Linked DNA regions of Homo sapiens: regions 1 and 3 are each linked to region 2. Evidence: promoter capture Hi-C in 16 types of primary human blood cells and fetal thymus (Javierre and others, 2016). All regions are on one chromosome and are shown on one strand. Each heading gives the region's core, a stretch centred on a gene start or on the middle of the fragment in contact. The rest is flanking DNA. Distances are from core to core; before and after follow the strand shown. Region 1 holds the start of MDP1 (magnesium dependent phosphatase 1). Region 2 overlaps C14orf93 (chromosome 14 open reading frame 93). Region 3 holds the start of NEDD8 (NEDD8 ubiquitin like modifier).

Evidence for each region. Contacts are between HindIII fragments. The CHiCAGO score rates a contact against its expected background, and 5 or more counts as called.
Region 1: a contact is called between the fragment with the promoter of MDP1 here and a fragment that was not itself captured in region 2, in 1 of 17 cell types (monocytes). The highest score is 5.5, in monocytes.
Region 3: the fragment with the promoter of NEDD8 here is called in contact with a fragment that was not itself captured in region 2 in 1 of 17 cell types (monocytes); the score reaches 5.2 in monocytes.

Annotation. Positions count from the first base shown.
Region 1 is chr14:24,214,321-24,218,146 of GRCh38, reverse strand. It overlaps MDP1 (magnesium dependent phosphatase 1), which reads left to right and starts at 2,081. Exons shown (of 6, transcript NM_138476.4): 1 at 2,081-2,228; 2 at 2,350-2,410; 3 at 2,485-2,595; 4 at 3,548-3,655; 5 at 3,752-3,826. The coding sequence starts at 2,192. It overlaps NEDD8-MDP1 (NEDD8-MDP1 readthrough), which reads left to right. Exons shown (of 7, transcript NM_001199823.3): 3 at 1-14; 4 at 2,485-2,595; 5 at 3,548-3,655; 6 at 3,752-3,826. NEDD8 (NEDD8 ubiquitin like modifier) reads left to right here. Exons shown (of 4, transcript NM_006156.3): 3 at 1-14; 4 at 924-1,290. The coding sequence ends at 1,020. RefSeq lists enhancers at 2,035-2,204, 2,617-3,355. The HindIII fragment of the contact is 6,893 bases long and covers 1-3,826 here.
Region 2 is chr14:23,005,675-23,009,287 of GRCh38, reverse strand. The region is part of intron 1 of C14orf93 (chromosome 14 open reading frame 93); the gene reads left to right. It overlaps LOC124903286 (a long non-coding RNA gene), which reads right to left. Exons shown (of 2, transcript XR_007064075.1): 2 at 304-2,720. Among named protein-coding and RNA genes, the nearest start is that of C14orf93, 2.7 kb to the left of the region's middle. RefSeq lists enhancers at 784-1,344, 2,278-2,647 and a silencer at 2,068-2,117. The HindIII fragment of the contact is 3,706 bases long and covers 510-3,613 here.
Region 3 is chr14:24,229,739-24,233,616 of GRCh38, reverse strand. NEDD8 (NEDD8 ubiquitin like modifier) reads left to right here and starts at 1,250. Exons shown (of 4, transcript NM_006156.3): 1 at 1,250-1,367. The coding sequence starts at 1,350. It overlaps NEDD8-MDP1 (NEDD8-MDP1 readthrough), which reads left to right and starts at 1,250. Exons shown (of 7, transcript NM_001199823.3): 1 at 1,250-1,367. The coding sequence starts at 1,350. It overlaps GMPR2 (guanosine monophosphate reductase 2), which reads right to left and starts at 688. Exons shown (of 10, transcript NM_001002002.3): 1 at 640-688; 2 at 277-398; 3 at 19-138. The coding sequence starts at 363. RefSeq lists enhancers at 1,060-1,354, 521-1,386. The HindIII fragment of the contact is 2,879 bases long and covers 270-3,148 here.

The sequences.
Region 1 (3,826 bases), core at 832-3,331, 1.2 Mb before region 2:
AGTGGCAAGCAGATGTGAGTTTGGAGTGAGAATGACAGCATGGCGATCTTATGTGAAGATGAGAAGAGGAGAGGGGGCACGTACTGAGGTGGATCAGGGGTGCCTCTTGTTTTTGGTGCCTAAGACTCTTTGGCAATCTGGTGAAGCCTCTAAGCCCCTTCTCAGAATAAGATTTTTTCAGGCATAAAACAAAATATATAGAATTAAAGGAAAACTAATTATATTGAAATAGTTATTAAAATACTAAAACAAATTTGTGATATAGTAATATATGTACTTTTTTATTAATGCATAAGATCTAATGGTAGGTCTAATATGACCATAATTTTGAAATATTTTCAAGATACCTATAAATGATCATGATAGAAAATAGTTAATTGCTATTGTTAACAAGTTACCTATATTGCTAATACTACTGTGGTTTTTGGGCTATGTTTAAAGTTAGAAGAAATGTTAAATTTCAGTTGGGGGTTAGTAAAAATAAAGATGGGATTTTTTTTCTCATTCAAGTTCACAGACCCCCAAAGAGATCCAGGAAACTCAAGAACTCCTGTTCTGGCCGGGCGCAGTGGCTCACGCCTGTAATCCCAGCACTTTGGGAGGCTGAAGGGGGTGGATCACCTGAGGTCAGGAGTTCGAGACCAGCCTGGCCAACATGGTGAAACCCCATCTTTACTAAAAATACAAAAATTAGCTGGGCGTGGTGGTGGGCGCTTGTAATCCCAGCTACTCAGGAGGCTGAAGCAGGAGAATTGCTTGAACCCAGGAGGTGGAAGTTGCAGTGAGCTGAGATCGTGCCACTGTACTCCAGCCTAGATGACAGAGCGAGACTCTGTCAAAAACAACAACAACAACAACAACAACAACAACAAAAAACTCCTAAGTCTTCTTTTTCTTTTTTTTCTGGCTTCCTTTTCCTGCAGGAATGATGAGAAGACAGCAGCTGATTACAAGATTTTAGGTGGTTCAGTCCTTCACCTGGTGTTGGCTCTGAGAGGAGGAGGTGGTCTTAGGCAGTGATGGACCCTCCATTTTACCTCTTTACCCTGTCGCTCATAATGAGGCATCATATATCCTCTCACTCTCTGGGACACCATAGCCACTGCCCCCTCCCCTGGATGCCCAGTAATGTATGTCTACTGGTGGGAGACTGTGAGGATCCCAGGATTCAGTATTCCTGGCCCAGAGGGCCCTTGCTGGCTACTGGGTGTTAGTTTGCAGTCCTGTGTGCTTCCCTCTCTTATGACTGTGTCCCTGGTTGTCAATAAAATATTTCCTGGCCTCCTGGAATCTTTCTTCTGTTGCACAAGTTGACTGAAATAAAAATGGACCTAATGCTCACTCAGTTATAGCAGGCTGAAGGAATCGGACAGTGGAAGGAATGGTGCTCTTACGGGGATTATCAGACTCTAGGAAAACCTACTTAGTGGTGTGTTGGAACCAGTTCCTAGTGGCTAATGAGAGCCAATTATTGGCACCTTTTTCCAACTCTATTAAGTGACTTCATGTTGGTAGCTTGAAATTGGCCATGGTAGGATTATTTACAGAAACTAGCAAACACTACAGATCAGTTCCTCCCCACAAACTGGTTGTTATACATCTACCAGTGTAGTGCTGACATGGATGGTGAAACCTTCGGAGAGTGAATTCTCTCTTGACTGTGGCTGTACTGGACATTTAGGCCTGGTTGGAGAACGCCTTCAAGGGTTTGGCTGACACTGTACTCTATGGCTGGAATATTACTGAGGACTTTGGGTTCTACACTGTCAGGAGGTTGATAATGCAGAAAGATTGAGTGACAAGCTGTGATGTATCACTTGGGTCTCAAGAAGAGGCAGGTGCTAGAAGAAAAGGCTTTCCTTCTTCCCTGGCTTCTTAGTATAATAGAATCGGGCAAGGCTGGGTGGAGTGGAGAAGTAGGGAGGATGCCCGTGGCCAATGCCTTAGAAAGACTTGACTGCTGTGGTTGCATGTGTGGTCGTGTTGGTACCTCGCTGCAATCCTCTTCCCCGCCCAGCATCAGATGGCACTCTTGCGCCATCTCCAGGCTGATGACGCCCCGAGTGGCGACGCTCTAGTCGCCATTTGTCTATGGCAGGCAGGGTGGCTGCCTTAGCTGCCGGAGGTTCCGCACTCTCTAAGGCCCCGGGTGAAGCCCCACCTCTGCTGCGCGCAGCCTGCGGTGCGGGTCATGGCGCGGCTACCGAAGCTGGCAGTCTTTGATTTGGGTGAGGGACGGGAAGGGGAGAATTTCGTAAGGTGCTCTCCTTTTCCACATCCCTAACAGCAGCTCCCGAATCCCTGCATCTCCCGCCCCAGGCTGAACCTTCCCTCTCCTTCCTCTCGCAGATTACACTCTCTGGCCTTTCTGGGTCGACACGCACGTAGACCCTCCGTTCCATAAGAGCAGGTGAGGTAGGGACAGGGAAGACTGGGGGCGAGATAGGACCCAGCCAGGGCTGAGCGCACTCTTGCCCTCTCCAGTGATGGAACTGTACGAGATAGGCGGGGCCAAGACGTCCGACTGTACCCAGAGGTGCCTGAGGTCCTAAAACGATTGCAGAGCCTTGGGGTGCCCGGTGCGGCTGCTTCAAGGTAAGAAGAGCGACTGACAACTGACAGTGTAATGCTGAAGGGTGCATGCAAGAGACAGTGAAACCCCTGGTCTACAAAAATAGGGGCGGTGCAAGTTTCCAAGTATTTACATATTTTTTCCCTTGAACGCTCTCCTGTGCCTTTTAACTATTAAAAAGTGGGGCCAGCAGGCGGGCGCGGTGGCTCACGTCTGTAATCCCAGCACTTTGGGAGGCCGAGGCGGGTGGATCACGAGATCGGGAGTTCAAGACCAGCCTGATCAACATGGTGAAACCCCGTCTCTACTAAAAATACAAAAATTAGCAGGGCGTGGTGGCACGCACCTGTAATCCTAGCTACTCGGGAGGCTGAGGCAGGAGAATCGCTTGAACCCGGGAGGCGGAGGTTGCAGTGAGCTGAGATGGAGCCACTGCACTTCAGCCTGGGTGACAGAGTGAGACAATGTCTCAAAAAAAAAAAAAAAAAAAAAAGTGGGGCCAGACACAGTGACTCACACCTGTAATCTTAGCATTTTGGGAGGCCTAGGTGGGAGGATCACTTGAGCCCAGGAATTTGAGACCAGCCTAGGCAATAGAGGGAGACCCTATCTCTACCAAAAAAAAAAAAAAAATTGTAGTGGCGTGCACCTGTAGTCCCAGCTACTTGGGAGGCTGAGGTGGGAGGATCACTTGAGCCCAGGAGGTCGTGACCACAGTGAGCCGTGATTGGGTCGCTGCACTCCAGTCTGGGCAACAGAGCTAGACCCTGTCTCAAAACAAAAGCTAAAACATTGGCCCAGCACCAATTGTGTCAAATAGGAAGGCAATGGAGTTAAACAGAGGCTGAGGATGCCTGTCCATCCCGGAAAAACAGCAAGTTGATTTCCCTGGTTATACTTACTAACTTTGCTTAATAAGTTAACGTAGCCCTGGCCCTTCACTTTGCTAATCCCATCTTTTACACCGTTTTGCAGGACAAGTGAGATAGAAGGGGCCAACCAGCTACTGGAGCTCTTTGACCTCTTCAGGTACTTTGTTCATCGGGAAATCTATCCAGGCAGCAAGATCACACACTTTGAGAGGTATGCGGAGATAAGGGAGGAGCAGGGTGAGAAAGTATCAGAGAGGCCTGGGAAACCAAGATACTAGCTTGGTTACTCCTGCCCTGTCTTGAATAGGTTGCAGCAGAAGACTGGAATTCCTTTCTCCCAGATGATCTTCTTTGATGATGAGAGGCGGAATATTGTAGACGT
Region 2 (3,613 bases), core at 1,113-3,612:
GCAGAGCTTAGAAGAAATCCTATGCTTAGCATACTTAGGCACTTTCTATGTGCATTTACTATATTTTTCTGCTCCTAAAGGATCAGAATAATGAATAATTAAATAATTGCCAAGGAGTATATAGTCCATGTGGCAAATGAGAGTAGGCAATTTATTGAATCTGTGGTTCAAAGCCTTCAGTGACTGTTTTGCCTAAGTGGTTTTGCTTTTTATTGTCTCACGTTCTTAAGTGTACAGCTGTGTATATTTTGGCCTTTATGTGTGGTTTGGTTGGTGTGTTCAGAAGGGAAGTTCTTTCTTGGCTTTTTGACAAAATGGTCGTTTATTGGTTGGAATATTCGAAAAGCTCCACAGCTGGCAAAGTATCAGGAAAAAAATCCAGTCAAGTGTAATTCTCAAAAACTGTTCATGGTGATGGTGATGGGGAGCCAAGAGGATGCAAAGGCAAATAATAGAAGGGATAAGAAATGCCTTTTGGTTATCATGTTGCATTTTTAGAATGGAAAGCTTCTCATTTCTAAGAGTCACAGAAAAAAGTATATGAATTAGAGAAAAACAGGCTCGCAGAGCAGAACCTCCTGTTATAGGAGCCCTATTTTCACTTCATTCTGTTACAGAATCACTATCTCCTCATTAGAAGTTGTATGGAAAATATCTGTATCCAAATTTGTATTCGCAGATTGGAGTGAAAGCATAGGAGGTATATGAGGTGCTGAGGGAGAAACTGGAATGTCACAAATGCAGTGACAACCAGGAGACAAAAAAAAAAATCTACTGTAGAATTTAAATTTCATTACAACAAAACTTCTGTATAATAATGCATTTCTATTACACAGCTAGCATCCTACTCTATTTCAAGCAGTATTTGACTCCTAAATACTGACTGCAATAAAGTTACTTGTACAAATTTATAACAAAAGTGGCCCTGTTTGGGCTTTCTGGGTTTCTTACTTGTGCTGAGTGTATTTTTATTCTCTAACAATTCAAGTCAGACCAGTGCTTAATAAATACTGGCTCGACTGTGGATTATTCCACAATTTCAGACCTGCATTTCTTTGAAATCTAGTCACATTTTAGTGATCTTTGTGATCACAACAGTGATGGGAGTTTTTTTTTTTTTTTTTTTTTTTTTTGAAACGGAGTTTCGCTCTTGTTGCCCAGGCTGCAGTGGCAATGGTGCGATCTTGGCTCACTGCAACCTTCGCCTCCTGGGTTCAAGCGATTCTCCTGTCTCGGCCTCCCGAGTAGCTGGGATTACAGGCATGTGCCACCATGCCGGGCTGATTTTTGTATTTTTAGTAGAGACGGGGTTTCACCATGTTGGTCAGGCTGGTCTCCAACTCCTGACTTTAGGTGATCCGCCCGCCTCTGCCTCTCAAAGTGCTGGGATTACAGGCGTGAGCCACCGCGCCCGGCCAGTTACGGGAATTTTTAATGGAGTTTTACCCTTTTTAGCTCTTTTCCACATCACTACAGGTCATCACATATACTTTTTACCTTACTTTTTAGCGTCTCAAAAAATAGGGAGAGCTCTCCCTGAACAGTGCAGAGCCCGTATCCCTGATTTCCTAGGCTATTTGATTTCTACATCCAGGAACGTAGGGTCATATCCACTGTTCTTGCTTTTTCTTCCTAAGAAAGGAGAGAATTCCTCGCACATATATATCGTTGGCTTGGCCTTCCAAAGCAAAGCAAAACTAAACTCTGTTGATTTTGCCTGGGAATCCTCGGGGCCCCTAGTATTGGAAACTTCTTTGAACTGTGAGGAGCTGCTAATTTGCAGGTGACATGTGAAAGAAATGTAACCGAGGCCAGCAGTAACTAAAAGTCGGCCACCACCCAACGTGTGACGCCGATTTGTGGCCACTGTGCTTATAATCGTGTACACACAGGTTTGTGAGCAGCAGAGAACAAAAGCAAGTAAACAAAAACAAGCTAAAGATGGCGTCTGACGGCCTTGAAAAAGCCTCACAGTCTTGTCCCTCCCTGAGGAGGCCCCTCCCCTACCTGACTTTTTGAGTGACTGTTGTTTGCAGCCAATAGTGTCCGTGACCCTGCTCCCCAGCCATCGTCTAACCGCCAATCACCGGGAGCCAGAAGGCAAACGGGGCGGTGTCTCCCCGCGTGCGCGCGGTAGCCGGGTACACGGGCAGGCGCCGCGGATAGTTCTGTCTCCCGCGCGCCCGCCTCCGCCTCTGCCTAGCTGAGTCAGCCCGTGCGGTAGCGCCAGGCACACGCGGTAGAACATCTGTAGGGCTGCAAAGCTGCACCTCCGCGTCAGTTCTCACGGCGAGCGCCGCCTTCAGCCCAAGTTCTCAAAGCTCTCGGGGCTACGTAGTCTACCCTCCCCGGTGACCCGGCGAGATCCCTAGCCGCTCCTCCGGCCGCTCTGCTCTCCGCATCCCTCGCGGGAATGACCCCCTTTACCCGGGACTCCCAGAGCGCACTGTATGGTAGGGCACAGTGGCGAGTCACCCTGTCCCCTGAGGCCTCTTGAGCAGTCGCCGATCTCTGCTTCCCGCGTCGCTGCGATCGCCTTTCCCGTAGCTGAATCACACTGACCCATCGGAAACGGTTCTGCCCTCCCTGGGGTCCACCTTGTCATCCTTGACTAATATTTAATCAACTAACATTTACCAAGTTCTCGCTGGCACGAGTTCTAGGAGCTACTTTTTCATTTTTCAGTTTCTCCATAAATGCAGTGGGTCCTTTAGGCAAACCTGAAATCGGAAATATTAATCTTACCAATGTAATCTTAGCAAATGTAAATAAAAAGGACTGTGCTATACTGGGCTAAAAATTCTCATCCTGCTATAGAAATATACGTGGAATTTTCAGATTACGTGGAATCCTTTAAAGACCGCATTCGGCCTTCTGGGTCTACAGCTCTCTTTTTTACCCCTAAAAATAAGGTCTTGGATTTTTTGCAGACCATTAGTCGAGTCACTCTTTTAAAATGTGGGAAAATAGTATTTTGTGGTATTTACTTAGCTGCTCTTGTGTGATAAGGAGCTCATTTCTGATAAAAATAGGTTTTGAGAGAACCTTTTGACAGGTGAGCCATTTTGCACCTTGAAGTGGAGGAGTAGGACTGACCAACACAGCAGGAGCTTTAAGTGGCCGTTTTCCTTATTTATTTCTTAAAATGAAGATTATGATATGAATTGCCATGCTTTCAGTAATCACATTTAAGGAAGTCTATTGCTAGCATGACCCTGAATGAGTCAAGCACCCATTATAAAAACATATATCATCTGAGTGATACCATATCATACACATCTATTAAATAGTGAGAAAACTTTTATTTTTCATAGTTTGGAGGTGAACTCAGTCATGCAGAAAATTCAAACTCAGAATGGGGAGAAAGCAAGCAAGGGAACTGCCAAGAGTATGATATATTTAGTCCTAACAAAAATGTGACTTGGGAGGAAAGGGATAGTTAAAATTATGGACAGTCTTACCCTGAACTGTCTGTCTAAAGGAGATGAATTGTCTTTCTTTTTTATCTAAATATTTATGAAAAATACCAAAAGTACTGGAAAGTACATTTTTAAGGCTCGTTTCACATTTATTTAAATTAGACCAATACTGAAATGAACCCCAAATGCTTATA
Region 3 (3,878 bases), core at 1-2,500, 1.2 Mb before region 2:
GCATGAGGAAAGCCCTACCTTACAGAGAACCTTGGCCATCTCAAAGGTGCCCACAGTATCCATATTGGCAGCAATGATGGGAACCCCAGAGTATGTCTGCTTTGAGTTCCGAAATGAAAAGGATCTTGTGAGATCCACCTGCAGATATGAACAGGAAATTGACCATTTCATTAATCCAAAAAACGTACCATATTAGGACAAGGACAGGCATCTTTCTTGGTTGTGGCCCACCGGGAGCGTGGGGTCAAGAAACAGCAAGTAGAGAAGCTTGCTCACCTCACTTCGAGACTTAAGGGTACTGCGTTTGGGCCTCAAAAGGACATCCTTGAAGTCCAGTTTCACATCGTTGTCAATATGAGGCATGGCGCTTAGCCTCGGGGTAGCGATGAATCTGAGGGCTGGAAGGCAGGAAGTCATAAGGACCAATCTTCCCCTGGGCTTTAACGCCCTGTTACGGCTGGTGGCCTCTCTTCGCTTAAGTTGTGGAAGGTCGGGCAAAGGCCGAAGTGTGGTCCCTGAAGCCTGTCACCTCGACCCATCCCGTGGCTGCGATTACCCTAGGGCTCCATCCCAGGTACTGTTTGTTGGGGAGGAGAGCTGGGAAAGGGTTGTGAGAGACCCTGACGGTGCATTCCTTACCCCGCTACACTTCCTTCTTCTACCCCTGCAAAGAGCAATGGGGCAAGAGGCTGATTTAGGGGAACGAAGGAATGTTGGCGACGGGGGGCGGGGAGGGTTCATAACTAGTTTCCGGAATAGAGGTACTCACTTCCTGTTGCCTTGGTCCAGGCGGCAGTTGACCAAAGACCACCTTGCTTAGCAACTAACCTCGTGCAATCCCGCTAAGCCTTCTGGGCCACGCCAACAGGTTCCTCTAGTTGCCGGCGAGAACTACTAGCCGACGAATTCCAGCTTCGGCGGCGGCAGGGCGAGGCCTTCTGGATAACAGAGTTCACGCACTGAGGTTGCTGTTGGATCCGAGGGGGTTAGACTACAACTCCCAGGGGGAAACGGGCGGGACCGCCTCCTGGCACGATGGGAGATGTAGTTCGTTCTGCCCCCACTTTTCGCTAGCCCGGGCTCGCCAGGGACTCTCAGAATCGCAGAGTCGTCATCTCTGCTGTTGCTAAACTGGATGCCTCATTCCAATTTACGACGTCACTGAACCGAAACGCGGGAGCAACCCTGAGCCTTTCCGGAACCCAGTGGGGGGGGGGGGGGGGGTGGAGCCAGACAGTGACCCGGAAGTAGAAGTGGCCCTTGCAGGCAAGAGTGCTGGAGGGCGGCAGCGGCGACCGGAGCGGTAGGAGCAGCAATTTATCCGTGTGCAGCCCCAAACTGGAAAGAAGATGCTAATTAAAGTGAAGGTGGGAGCACCTCCAGCCTTGCCAAGACGCAGTAGTACTGGGCTGGCAGCAGTGCCTTACGGGAGACGTGGGGAAGGAAAACCACGCCTTTCCCTAGCCTGGAGGACGCTGACTGCCTCAGGGCTCCGCGCGAGGGGTGGTGGGAAATAGGGGGACCCAGAAGGGCTTTGAGAGCGGGGCCCAGGTCCCACCTGACGACCCTGGGGTATTTTGCCATGCCTGCTTTTTTGCCAGGACTGTGCTATCACCCAGAATGGGGTCGCTTTTGTCGGGTCTCACTGTATTCGAACCCCCGCAGTCATAGAGAAGGCCTAGCAGCGGCTTGACTCCCCCGTCTCTCAGATTCTTGGAGTAAGCGCTGCTCTCCATTCTTCATTCCCAGGGTACCTGCTTCTCCCAGTCCCTAACGTAGGTCGCCTCCGAGCACAGCCCTAAAATCGGGGCCTCCCAAGGGCTAGACTATGAGCCTTTACTGGTGGTTGCCAAGGTGTGGTATCTCACCCGTCCTACAGGAACCAAAGCGGGGAGTGTGTTCAGTCAGTACCTGCCTTTCTGAGCCTGGCATCCTGGACCAGCCTCACTTCCTTGGCTGAGGCAGGTTAGTTACCGCTGCCCTAGTTCTTGCTACTAGCCATGGTTTCCTTCATCTGCATCTCTCAACTCCCGTGGTGGTTCTTCACCAATTTCCAGCCCTCGTTAGTCCTATCTGCTGTTTCCTCTTTTGTGCCTTCAGACAGACAGAGACCCCCCCCCCCACGCCCCCCTCAAAAAAACAAAACTGCTGACAAGTGAAGTCTAATGCTAGTTTGGCCTTTTTGTAGCTAAGTAAATCTATCGTTATTTCATCAGCTTCTTAGCATATTTACCGTACATAATAGTCATTCTTAACCTTCTCTTCCCCAGTCCTTCCAAACTACTTCTTAGCTAAGATTTGAGGTCTAGTATTAAAATAGTATGTTAAAGATGATTTTTTTTAACGTTGAGTAGCGGCCTATATAAGAGTCGTAACATCAATTTAATAGGTGAATGGGTCACTGGCGCCATTAAAAAGAGAAAATAGGCTGGGCGCGGTGGCTCACGCCTGTAATCCCAGCACTTTGGAAGGCCGAGGCAGGCCGATCGCTTGAGCCCAGGAGTTGGAGACCATCCTGGGCAACATGGCGAAACCCTGCCTGTACAATAAATTCAAAAAATTAGCCAAGGGTCTGGGCGCATGCCTGTAGGCCCAGCTATTCGGGAGGCCGAGATGGGAGGATTGATTGATCCTGGGATGTCGAAGCCGCGGTGAGCAGTGATGGCACCACTGCACTCCAGACCCTGCCTGAAAAAAAAGGCCGGGCCCAGTGGCTCACGCCTGTAATCCCAGCACTTTGGGAGGCCGAGGTGGGTGGATCACCTAAGGTGAGGAGTTCAAGACCAGCCTGGCCAACATGGTGAAACCCCGCCTCTACTAACAATACAAAAACTAGCCGGGCGTGGTGGTGGGCGCCTATAATCCCAGCTACTCGGAGGCTAAGGCAGGAGAATCCCTTGAACCTGGGAGGCGGAGATTGCAGTGAGCTGAGATGGCGCCATTGCACTCCAGCCTGGGCGACAAGAGTGAAACTCCATCTCCCCCTGCAAAAAAAAAAAAGAAAGAGAGAGGGGGAGAAAATAGGAAATAATATAGTGCTAGGTAAGGATATTGTTTTATGATTTTTTTTTTTTTTTTTTTTGAGACAGAGTCTCGCTCTGTCGCCCAGGCTGGAGTGCAGTGGCGCCATCTCGGCTCACTGCAAGCTTCGCCTCCCGGGTTCATGCCATTCTCCTGCCTCAGCCTCCCGAGTAGCTGGGACTACAGGCGCCTGCCACCACGCCCAGCTAATTTTTTTGTATTTTTAGTAGAGACAGGGTTTCACCATGTTAGCCAGGATGGTCTCGATCTCCTGACCTCGTGATCCGCCCGCCTCTGCCTCCCAAAGTGCTGGGATTACAGGTGTGAGCCACCCTCCCCCGTGCCTGGCCTTTTTTTTTTTTTTTTTTTTTTTTTTTGAGACAGAGTCTCACTCTGTTGCCAGGCCTGAAATTTTTTATTTTATTTTATATGTATATTACACAGGGGGTGTTACTAGTTCATACTAATTTTTAGAATGGATCACTGTCAAAATCTTGAGAAACACTAACTGTTGAATATTTTTATTTGAGACGGAGTCTCCCTCTGTCACCAGGCTGGAGTGCAGTGGCGCAATGTCGGCTCACTGCAACCTCCGCCTCCCGGGTTCAAGCGATTCTCCTGCCTCAGCTTCCTGACTAGCTGGGACTACAGGGTGTGCCACCACGCCCAGCTAATTTTTGTATTTTTAGTAGAAACGGGGTTTCACCAGGTTGGCCAGGATGGTATCGATCTCTTGACCTAGTGATCCGCTCACCTCCGCCTAAAGTGTTGAGATTACAGTCATGAGCCACCGCGCCCGGCCTGTTGAATACTTCTGTTGGCTTTTCAATGCATATGGGTTCTCATGTCCACTAGGT